Regions from separate parts of the Homo sapiens genome. Here region 2 is linked to region 1. The links are contacts of gene promoters, found by promoter capture Hi-C in human tissues and cell types (Jung and others, 2019). All regions are on one chromosome and are shown on one strand. Each heading gives the region's core, a stretch centred on a gene start or on the middle of the fragment in contact. The rest is flanking DNA. Distances are from core to core; before and after follow the strand shown.

Region 1 (5,533 bases), core at 2,926-5,425:
GCGTCTCTGCCTGGCCGACCATCGTCTGGGATGTGAGGAGCCCCTCTGCCTGGCTGCCCAGTCTGGAAAGTGAGGAGCGTCTCTGCCCGGCCGCCATCCCATCTAGGAAGTGAGGAGCGTCTCTGCCCGGCCACCCATCGTCTGAGATGTGGGGAGCGCCTCTGCCCCGCCGCCCCGTCTGGAATGTGAGGAGCGCCTCTGCCCGGCCGCAACCCTGTCTGGGAGGTGAGGAGCGTCTCTGCCCGGCCGCCCCGTCTGAGAAGTGAGGAGACCCTCTGCCTGGCAACCGCCCCGTCTGAGAAGTGAGGAACCCCTCCACCCGGCAGCCACCCCGTCTGGGAAGTGAGGAGCGTCTCCGCCCGGCAGCCACCCCACCCGGGAGGGAGGTGAGGGGTGCCTCTGCCCGGCCGCCCCTACTGGGAAGTGAGGCGCCCCTCTGCCTGGCCACCACCCCGTCTGGGAGGTGAACCCAGCAGCTCATTGAGAACGGACCATGATGACACTGGCGGTTTTGTGGAATAGAAAGTGGGGAAAGGTGGGGAAAGGATTGAGAAATCGGATGGTTGCCGTGCCTGTGTAGAAGGAAGTAGACATGGGAGACTTTTCATTTTGTTCTGTACTAAGAAAAATTCTTCTGCCTTGGGATCCTGTTGATCTGTGACCTTGCCCCCAACCCTGTGCTCTCTGAAACATGTGCTGTGTCCACTCAGGGTTAAATGGATTAAGAGCGGTGCAAGATGTGCTTTGTTAAACAGATGCTTGAAGGCAGCATGCTCATTAACAGTCATCACCACTCCCTAATCTCAAGTACCCAGGGACACAAACACTGCGGAGGGCTGCAGGGTCCTCTGCCTAGGAAAACCAGAGACCTTTGTTCACTTGTTTATCTGCTGACCTTCCCTCCACTATTGTCCTATGACCCTGCCAAATCCCCCTCTGCAAGAAACACCCAAGAATGATCAATAAAAAAAATAAATAAAAAAAAAGAAAAAAAAAAGAAGACAACCCAATTAAAAATGAACAGAGGGAAAAAGAAAAACAAAACAAAAAAACAAAAACACACACAAAAAAACAGAGGGCCAGGTGCAGTGGCTCACGCCTGTAATTCCAGCACTTTGGGAGGCCGATGTGGGTGGATCACTTGAGGTCAGGAGTTTGAGATCAGCCTGGCTAACATGGCAAAACCCTGTCTCTACTAAAAATACAAAAATTAGCCGGGCGTGGTGGCCCATGCTTGTAATCCCAGCTACTCGGGAGGCTGAGGCAGGAGAAGCGCTTGAACCCAGGAGGCAGAGGTTGCGGTGAGCCGAGATTGTGTCAGTGCACTCCAGCCTGGGTGACAGAGCAAGATTCTGTCTTAAAAAAAAGAAAAAAGAAAAGAAAGAGAAAAAGCCGGGCACAGTGGCTCATGCCTGTAACCCCAGCATTTTGGGAGGCGGAGGTGGGCGGATTACGAGGTCAAGAGATCCACGAGAGCATCCTGGCCAACGTGGTGAAATCTCATCTCTACTAAGAATACAAAAATTAGCCAGGCATGCTGGTGGGCGCCTGTAGGCCCAGCTACTTGGGAGGCTGAGGCAGGAGAATCACTTGAACCTGGGAGGTGGAGGTTGCAGTGAGCTGAGATCGCGCCACTGCACTCCAGCCTGGTGACAGAGCAAGACTCCATCTCAAAAAAAAAAAAAAAAAAAAAAAAGAACAGAGAATATGAATGAATAGGTATTTGTCCAAAGAAGATAAACCTAAGCAGATGTTCAACATCATTAGCTCCTAGGAAAATGAAAAACAAAACCACAAAGAGATACCATTTCACATCTACTGGTGTGGCTACAATAAAAAAGACAGACAAAAACCATTGTTGGTAGAGATGTAGAGAAGTTAGAACCCTCACACATTGCTGGTGGCAGTGCAGCTGCTTTGGAAAACAGTTTGACAGTTTCTCAAAAAGTCAAACATGTAATCCTGCAATTCCTCTCCTAGGTATATGCCTAAAAGGAATAAAAATAAAAACATATGTCCAAACAAACACTTGTACATGAATGTTTATAGCAGCATTACTCATAATTGTCAAAAGGTGGAAACAACCCAAATATCACTATGAATTGATAAACAAAATGCGCTACAGCAATACAGTGATACATTTGGCATTAAAGAAATGAAGTACAGATATATGCTACAATATGCGTGAACCTTGAAAACATATGCTAAGTGAAGGAAGCCAAACCCCAAAGGCCACACGGTGTATTGCTCCACTGATGTGAAATGTCCAGAATAGGCAAATTCACCAAGACAGAAGGTAGTTATCCTGCAGGAGTCTTTTTTTTTTGTGACGGAGTCTCGCTCTGTTGCCCAGGCTGGAGTGCAGTGGCACGATCTCGGCTCCTTGCAACTTCTGCCTCCCGGGTTCAAGCAATTCTTTGCCTCAGACTCCCAAGTAGCTGGGATTACAGGTGCCCGCCACCACGCCCTTCTAATTTTTGTATTTTGTATTTCACCATCTTGGCCAGGCTGGTCTTAAACTCCGGACCTCTTGATCCACCCGCCTTGGCCTCCCAAAGGGCTGGGATTACAGGCGTGAGCCACTGCGCCCAGCCCGGGAGTGACTGTTAATGGCTTTGAGGGTTTCTTTTTGGGATGATGAAAATGTTCTGAAATTGGACAGTGAGGATGACTGAACTGTGAACATAATAAAACCACTGTACACCTTAATTGGGTGAATTGTATGGTATGTAAATTAGATGGCAATAATGAGGTTAAAAAAAGTAAACTTTTAACATCAATGTCACCAGGGGTTCAAGTTCTGGCTTACACAGAATTCCTTTCCTGGAGAGCAGATAATATGCAAAGCCAGCAGTGATTTATTTTTACTCACAAATTCCTTACATATTTTTACTCACAAATTCCTTACATATCTAGTAGTCAGGTTCCTATTTTAAGCATGTAGCAAATACATTGTAACTCTTAATTCTGGAATGCAGTCTTTATGGCTTAGTGAGCCATCCAATCCACTTATAGTCTTCGTCAGCGGCAAAATCTGGAATTTCATGGTACTGTTACTTTGATCGCTCAACTTAGATTTATATTTTATAAATATATATATACATACATATATATATATTTTTTGAGATGGAGTCGCGCTCTGTCGCCCAGGCTGGAGTGCAGTGGCGCGATCTCGGCTCACTGCAAGCTCCGCCTCCCGGGTTCACGCCATTCTCCTGCCTCAGCCTCCCGAGTAGCCGGGACTACAGGCGCCCGCCGCCACATCTGGCTGATTTTTTGTATTTTTTAGTAGAGACGGGGTTTCACCGTGTTAGCCAGGATGGTCTCGATCTCCTGACCTCGTGATCCGCCCGCCTCGGCCTCCCAAAGTGCTGGGATTACAGGCGTGAGCCACCGCGCCCGGCCAAATATTTGTATTCTTGTGCACCGGAGGATGGTTTTCCCCCACTGACTCCAAACGTCTTCCTTGCATTTGCTGTGTACAATTCAGTGATTTGGGTCTCTCATCCATTTATACTTTCAAATTTTACCAATACTTTTTGAACACACTTAAAAAAAAAAAAACCCAGGAAGTATCTCTAAAAGGCCAAGGTAAAATAAAATGAATGGGAGTTCTTGTGTTCGAGTTTTCTTCCAACTGGGCTTTCCTGGAGGAGGTGGAAGAGTGTGTGGCAGATGTTTCAGAAAATGAGCGCTCAATACGGTAGATCACGCTCCCGGGGTCAAGGAGACGTTTTCCGTTTTCTTTTCCCTCGCTTAGGCGGCGGGCGCGCACAGTCCAGTGGGAGCGATGAGGTGTTTCTAGGCCCCCAAGTCACAGAAAAGCAGGCGATTGGGAACAACGGAGGCGCGGCGGGCCCCCGGGCCGCGGGCCAGCGCCACCTTCTGGTGGATCTTCCCCGACGCGAGTCTGGGAGTCGTCCCTCCCCTTGCCAGCCTACCTGGCTCAGGCCCGCCGCGCCCGCAGCCCCAGCGCGGTCGCCGTGGCAACGCCCCGCCCAGCCGCCAGCCTCCCTTTGCCCCTCCCCACGTCCGGCGCGGCTGCGCGGGACGGGGTGGGACGGAGGCGGGGAGAGGACGCAGGCGAGAGGAACTCGGCGGCGCGGCGCCCGCGGCCTATTGGCTGCCACGTCCCGGCGCCAGAAGCCCCGCCTCCCTGACGGGGGTCACGTGATCCCTTTCAAAGATGGCCGCCCTGTTGTTTTGATGAATAATACTTGGTGGGGCGAGGGGGAAAGAGTAGGGGTGGAGGGGTAGGAGGATTTACTCTTCCAGCGAGAGCTACGCGCATCCCATCCTCCCCCTCCCCCCTACCCGGGCTCCGGCGTGGAGGCGGGGCGTGGCCGGCCTGCTTTGGGAGGGGAGGGGCTTCCCTTACAGTGCTGGGCTCTGCCAGGACGGCTGTGGGGTCGCCTTACCTCGGGGTATCCACTCTGCAGTCGACCAGTTCCCGCCAGGAGCAAAGGGTAGGAAGGAGAGCAGGATCTGCTGTAGGAACGCAGCTACCGCGCCACTATCACGAAGAAACAGCAGGCTCGGGGCACGAGACGAACTGGAGACCGCGCTGCCTAGCTGGGTAACCTGGGAAGCAGAGGGTAATAAGTGGCGCCTTAAGACAACCCTGTAGCAGCAGCAGTGGCGGCCAAAGGAGGCTGCTCAGGGAACAAGCGGCTGTAGTAGTCTGTGGGGCGACTGGAGTGACCGAAGCCAAGGCAGTTTAGTGCCTCTCGTGTTCTTATTTTTTAACCTCTGACTATGCAATTCTGAAACCTCCCCCATTCGGGGGACCAGACAGCCTGATAGACACCTTCCACTCTCCTTCCTCCCGCCGTGGTCTCGAGAACAGAAGGATCTCTCCTTAACGCCTTTCACCATTAAGAGGAAAGCGATGGAGGAGCTGAGCGCTGATGAGGTGAGGAGGTTGGGGGACACCTTGAGGGATTAGTTGGCAACTCGTTAGCGCTTTGGACAGGGATGGTATTGCGCCAGTGCTGTCTGGCCTTTGGGCTTGGAGAAGGAACGGAGATGATATTTTCCAAGAATAACGTGACTCCCCGATAGGGTCTCTGGTTTTGTTCTCCTTTATTCTGTTGCCTTCTTTCTTCATTCTGAACTCCATTTGCTTCTTTCCGAGTGTTCTTTTAGGGTATGAACAAGAGGAGAGAGCATCTTGAGGTGTTTATTCTTTTCTTCAGGGTATGCGAACAAGAAGGGCGAGATTTACATGAAGTTAAAGTGTGTGTGTGTCTGTGTCTTCAGGAATTTAAAGAACAATTTTGGATGGAATGAGAATGTATGGTGGGTGAATATTTTTAAAGAAAGCATTTGAAATTCCAGATATGTGTGGTTATTGCACTGTATAAGCTTGATTAAACATATATTTTTGCTTGAGGGGTGGTTTACAGACAGATTCTTTGATATTTAACAAAATATGTATCTTCTCCACAGTTTAGAGAATTCCAGTTATATTCTGGTACTTAATAGACCACTAATGACTTCTGGCATTCTTCTGTTACATTCTATCTTTTCCTAC
Region 2 (5,591 bases), core at 1,025-3,524, 150 kb after region 1:
TCATCCTGCGGCACCTGCTCAACTCCCCCACGGACCCCTTCAACCGGCAGACGCTGACAGAGAGCATGCTGGAACCAGGTAGAGGAGGGTGCAGTTTGAGGTGCAGCGCTGGCGTCAGTACCAAGAGATAAAGCCCAAGTCACATATTGGAGATGAAGCAGAAGGGAAATTTATCAAATGCAGAAACTACCTACTTTATGACACTCTGTAGCAAAGACCCAAAACACTCTTGGCCCTTTTTCCCTGCAGACATCCAGTCCCTCCCTCTCATGTCCCAGTCCTTCTGGAGTCTTCGGCTCAATGAGGGAAAGAATGGCCTTTTCTTCCCATTTATACAGAGCGACAAGCATCCTCTCTCAGGAAGAGCCCTCCCATCTGGGGCATTAATCCTCCTTTTTTTCTTTTCTCAGTGCCAGAACTGAAAGAGCAGATTCAGGCGTGGATGAGAGAGAAACAGAACAGCGATCACTAAACCGTTCCGCCGCCCACCCTCTGCTAGACACAGCCAAGGCCAACGAGGCAAGCAGAAGCAGCGGCCGCAGCGAAGCTGCCGTTCATGTGTTGGAGGCCAAATGTGGCAAACCAACCCCAGGCCCACCCAGAGCGAGCAAACGCTGAGACCTGAAAGGACATGGATGAGAAGAGGAGCCCGCTTCCTGTACATATATTTAAGTGACAAACACGGTCAAAAGCTTAAGGGACAGGTTTTATGGTTGCTTGTGTAATAAAGCATGTCCTTCGTATGTCACAGTTTGGGGCAACGGAAGTCTTTTAGTGATGGCTAATGGGTCTGGGCAGCATCCCTTCATGAATTTTTTTTTAATCCAATATCCGTTGATTTGATTGTGATTAGAGAACCTTGGACATTTTGCTGCTAAAGAATCTTTTTTCCCCTCTCCCCCTTCCTGACCCTACTTGCACTGCTGTGGATTTTTTTAAGAGAAGCAAAAACAAAAGTAAACTCCTTTCCCTGGCCCTCCAAACATATATTCTGTGAGATAACTGTGCCTGCTACCAAGTGTTAATCCTGGGATCGTATTTTTATATCATATTCACATATTTGTTTTTTTAATTGGTGTTAGATGACATGATTAATAAAAAAGGCAAGATATTTTCAGAATTTGAATTTCAGTTTTTTTTTTCTTTTGAAATGTCCCTTTAAGATTTTTTTATTCTAAACAAAATAAAGAAAATCCTGCTGCTCTGGTCCTTGTGATAAGCCTCTCTTCGGCATCTGAGGAGCAGCTGCAGCAAAATCTAGGGGTGTAAGTGTATCAGGACTTATGTGACTTATATTTTGGGGAGATGAGGGTTGGGTTTTTTTTTTAATGCTACGTGACAGTTTGAAACCTTCACAGTTATCCTCTGGGGGTAAATCAATTCTTCAACCCTTGGGTGTGTGAGTTTGAGGCAGGGTCATTTGTGTGATGTGTTTGGCCTTACCAAAGCAAAAGAGGGTGCAAGAATGTGGGAGTATGTCTGCCGGTTTCAACACACACAGACAAACACAGCCACACGCGCACACAAGTATAAGACTTTTTGTATTACTGCTCCCTACTTAACATACTTGAATTCTCAAATTTCCTTTGGGGTAAAAAAAAAAAAAGGATTTGAAACCATAAAGTGTTCTGAAGAAATTAAGTCTATAAAAAGCATACTTTCTTTTTTCTTTTCCTTTTTTCCCTCCACAGACAATGTCCTCTGTTCAATTCCTAACGCAAACTACAATAAATGGTGACACACGTTCAGAAGAAATCTTCTTTGAGTCTCTTCTCTTTTGTGGAAAAAAAAAAAGGGCAGGGCGGGTGGGTAAACAAGAGCCAAGTGAGTTTGCATGTGGTGAATGATCTTTCCTGGATCCAATTAGGAGCTGCTATTTTTAAAAGAAAACTTTCTTATTCATGTCAGTCTCGACATTTGGTTCTCATTTCACTGTTTGCTGATTTGAGGGGGTAAGCTTTGTCATATTCAGTCTTCTGCCTTTCTTGAGTTTCTTCTGCTTTATCTCAAGTATCTTCCCTGACCTTCAAGATTCTTCCTCAGGCCGGGCCCGGTGGCTCACGCCTGTAATCCCAGCACTTTGGGAGGCTGAGGCGGATGGATCACCTGACGTCAGGAATTCGAGACCAGCCTGGCCAGCATGGTGAAACCCCATCTCTACTAAAAATACAAAAAATTAGCCGGGCGTAGTGGCAGCGCCTGTAGTCCCAGCTACTCGGGAGGCTGAGACAGGAGAATTGCTTGAACCTGGGAGGTGGAGGTTGCAGTGAGCCGAGATGACGTCATCACACTCCAGCCTGGGTGACAGCGAGACTCCGTCTCAAAAAAGAAAAAATATATATTTATATATATTTACATATATATTTATTTATATATATTTATATATATATATATAACATGGCCAGGTGCGGTGGCTCACGCCTGTAATCCCAGCACTTTGGGAGGCCAAGGCAGGTGTATCGTCTGAGGTCAGGAGTTCTAGACCAGCCTGGCCAACATGGTGAAACCCCATCTCAACTGAAAATACAAAAATTAGCTGGGCGTGGTGGTGGGTGCCTATAATCCCAGCTACTCGGGGGGCCGAGGCAGGAGAATTGCTTGAACCCAGGAGGTGGAGGTTGCAGTGAGCTGAGATCGCGCCATCGCACTCCAGCCTAGGGGACAAGAGTGAGACTTCGTCTCAAAAAATAGATAGATAGATAGACACAATAAATAAGGAAAAAGTTCATGATAGCAAAAATTTTAGGCAATATAAGCAAAAAGAAAAAAAATCCATATTCTCACCATGCAGAAGATTCTGTTTAATTGGGTTTACTTTTTACTAAACTTACATATCTAAGCTTAGTGCCTGTAGAATTAGGATACTGACTGGCATCTTGCCTAATTTTGTTTGTGTGGTTATCTGACCAGTGTGTACTGCTTGTCTCCTCTCCATCCCAGATTCCAAACTCTTATTTTAATCCTCCAGTTGTCCCCGTGAATGTAATAAAATGCTGCTTTATACCGCCATATGCACTTGTCGTTTTGAATAATTCAGAGGTTTCAAGGACCTGCCGGATAGGACAGAGACACAGTCAGTCTCCTGCCTGTACTATCTATAGGGGGAAGATGATTTGGGTTTCCATTTTTAGAGTCTCAAGAGTTGCTGTTTTGTGTTTGTCTGCAGTCTCTTAATTGTGGATATTGAAATAAATCCCAAAATATATTAAAAGTAGGTCTTGGCTAAAAGGAAGATTGTCAAATAAGAGAATCAGATTGGCAGAAGAGAAATGATCCTTGAGAGAAAGATGATTAAAATCTGCCTTGTGTTGTGACTCAGTGTTGTGTAGATTTTAAAAAGATATTGATTGAATATCTTTTGAAAAAAAAGCTGAGCACACCGTTCACTTTTTGTAACCTCTGGGTTTGGTACATCGAGTAGTGAATTTCACAGCAATTTGATTGGAGTGCTAAAGTGACATGAATAGGCCTCATTTGAGTAGGTACTTTTTTTTGTTTTTTGGTTTTTTTCAGACGGAGTCTCGCTCCGTCACCCAGGCTGGAGTGCAGTGGCGCAATTTTGGCTCATTGCAACCTCCACCTTCCAGGTTCAAGTGATTCTCCTGCCTTAGCCTCCCGAGTAGCTGGGACTAGAGCACATGCCACCATGTCCAGCTAATTTTTTTTTTTTTTTTTTTTTTTTTTTAGTAGAGATGGGGTTTCACCATGTTGGCCAGGCTGGTCTTGAACTCCAGACCTCAAGTGATCCACCTGCCTCAGCCTCCCGAAGTGCTGGGATTACAGGCATGAGCCACCACACCAGGCCTCAAGGTACGTTTTTGATTGAAGGAGACACAGTAGCCTATGAGCTTGATGCTGGTGTCAGATAGTGTTGGTGAAGAAAGTCATTCTGAATTGGTGATGATCATTTGCATTTCATGAGCATATTCTATGTGCAAGCCACTCTTACATGTATTAATTTTTTTTTTTTTTTTGAGACAGAGTCTCGCTCTGTCGCCCAGGCTGGAGTGCAGTGGCGCGATCTCGGCTCACTGCAAGCTCCGCCTCCCAAGTTCACGCCATTCTCCTGCCTCAGCCTCCCGAGTAGCTGGGACTACAGGTGTCCGCCACCATGCCCAGCTAATTTTTTGTATTTTTAGTAGAGACAGGGTTTCACCGTGTTAGCCAGGGTGGTCTCGATCTCCTGACCTCGTGATCCACCTGCCTTGGCCTCCCAAAGTGCTGGGATTACAGACAAGAGCCACCGCACCCGGCCACATATATTAATTAATTTAACCCTCCACAACCATAATGTAGTGGAACTGGCACATGAATCTAGGCCATCTGGCCTTTCCAGCCTCATCTCTTCCCGACTCCTGCTGTATGGCAGAGTTCCAGAATGCTAGAAGTTCAGAATAGCTCAGAATGCCCAAGGAGAAGCAGCATAGCATTTTGGAAGGGACTTTGGCCTTGAGATCAGCTCTAGACCTAACCCCCATTTTAAACAATTAGATAACTTCAATATCACAGCTTTCATTCGTTACTAGCCACTCACGTTGACCCCAGATGTATATCTCAAACCTCCACTTCTCTCCTGTACTGTACACACTGGCCATCTCAGATGACTAAAAGGTCCTCAGACTTAACATATCCCAACCTGAACTCTGTACATTTCACCCCACGCCCGCTCCTCTTAGTCTCCTCATCACAGTAAATGACAACTCCATCCTTCCAAGTCGCTCAGGCCACAAACCTTCGAGTCATCCTTGACTCCGCTGTTGTGCTCTCCTCCTATGTCCAATCTGTCCACAAATCTCTCTGCTCAGCTGGGTGCAGTGGCTCACGCCTGCAATCCTAGCACTTTGGGAGACCAAGGTGGGTGGATCACCTGAGGGCAGGAGTTCGAGACCAGCCTGGCCAACATGGTGAAACCCCGTCTCTACTAAAAATACAAAAATTAGCTGGGCATGGTGGCGGGCTTCTGTAATCCCAGCTGCTTGGGAGGCTGAGGCACAAGAATCACTTGAACCCGGGAGGCGGAGGTTGCAGTGAGCTGAGATCGGGCCACTGTACTCCAGCCTGGGCTACAAAGTGAGACTCTGTCTAAACAAACAAAAAAATCCCTCTGTTCTACCTACAAAATGTATCCCAGAACTCGACGACTACTCCCCAGGTCCCCTCCTGTCACTTTGGTTTGAGTTGCTGCTGCTGGCTCTCTCCTGGATTATTCCAACAGCATCACTGGTCCTCCTGCCTCTCCCCTTAACCTCCTTTCTCAGAAAAGCAGGTAGGATGATCTTGTTAAAACTTTGGCTGGGCGTGGTGGCTCACACCTGTAATCCCAGCACTTTGGGAGGCTGAGGTGGGCGGATCACCTGAGGTCAAGAGTTTGAGACCAGCCTGGCCAACATGGTGAAACCCCGTCTCTATTAAAAATACAAAAATCAGCTGGATGTGGTGGTGTACGCCTATAATCCCAGCTACTCAGAAGGCTGAGGCAAGAGAATCGCTTGAACCCAGGAGGCGGAGATTGCAGTGAGCCAAGATTGTGCCACTGTACTCCAGCCTGGGTGACAGAGTGACACTCTGTCTCAAAAAAAAAAAAAAAAAAA

What was found. Contacts are between HindIII fragments. The study calls those that stand out against the background at their distance.
Region 2: a contact is called between a fragment that was not itself captured here and the fragment with the promoter of UBE4B in region 1, in 1 of the 25 tissues and cell types used here (hippocampus).

What each region holds. Positions count from the first base shown.
Region 1 is chr1:10,028,783-10,034,315 of GRCh38, forward strand. It overlaps UBE4B (ubiquitination factor E4B), which reads left to right and starts at 4,176. Exons shown (of 28, transcript NM_001105562.3): 1 at 4,176-4,912. The coding sequence starts at 4,889. RefSeq lists silencers at 3,794-4,183, 4,214-4,433 and enhancers at 3,948-4,602, 4,994-5,043. The HindIII fragment of the contact is 12,263 bases long and covers 1-5,533 here.
Region 2 is chr1:10,179,485-10,185,075 of GRCh38, forward strand. It overlaps UBE4B (ubiquitination factor E4B), which reads left to right. Exons shown (of 28, transcript NM_001105562.3): 27 at 1-78; 28 at 411-1,755. The coding sequence ends at 472. Among named protein-coding and RNA genes, the nearest start is that of KIF1B, 28 kb to the right of the region's middle. The HindIII fragment of the contact is 5,206 bases long and covers 1-4,877 here.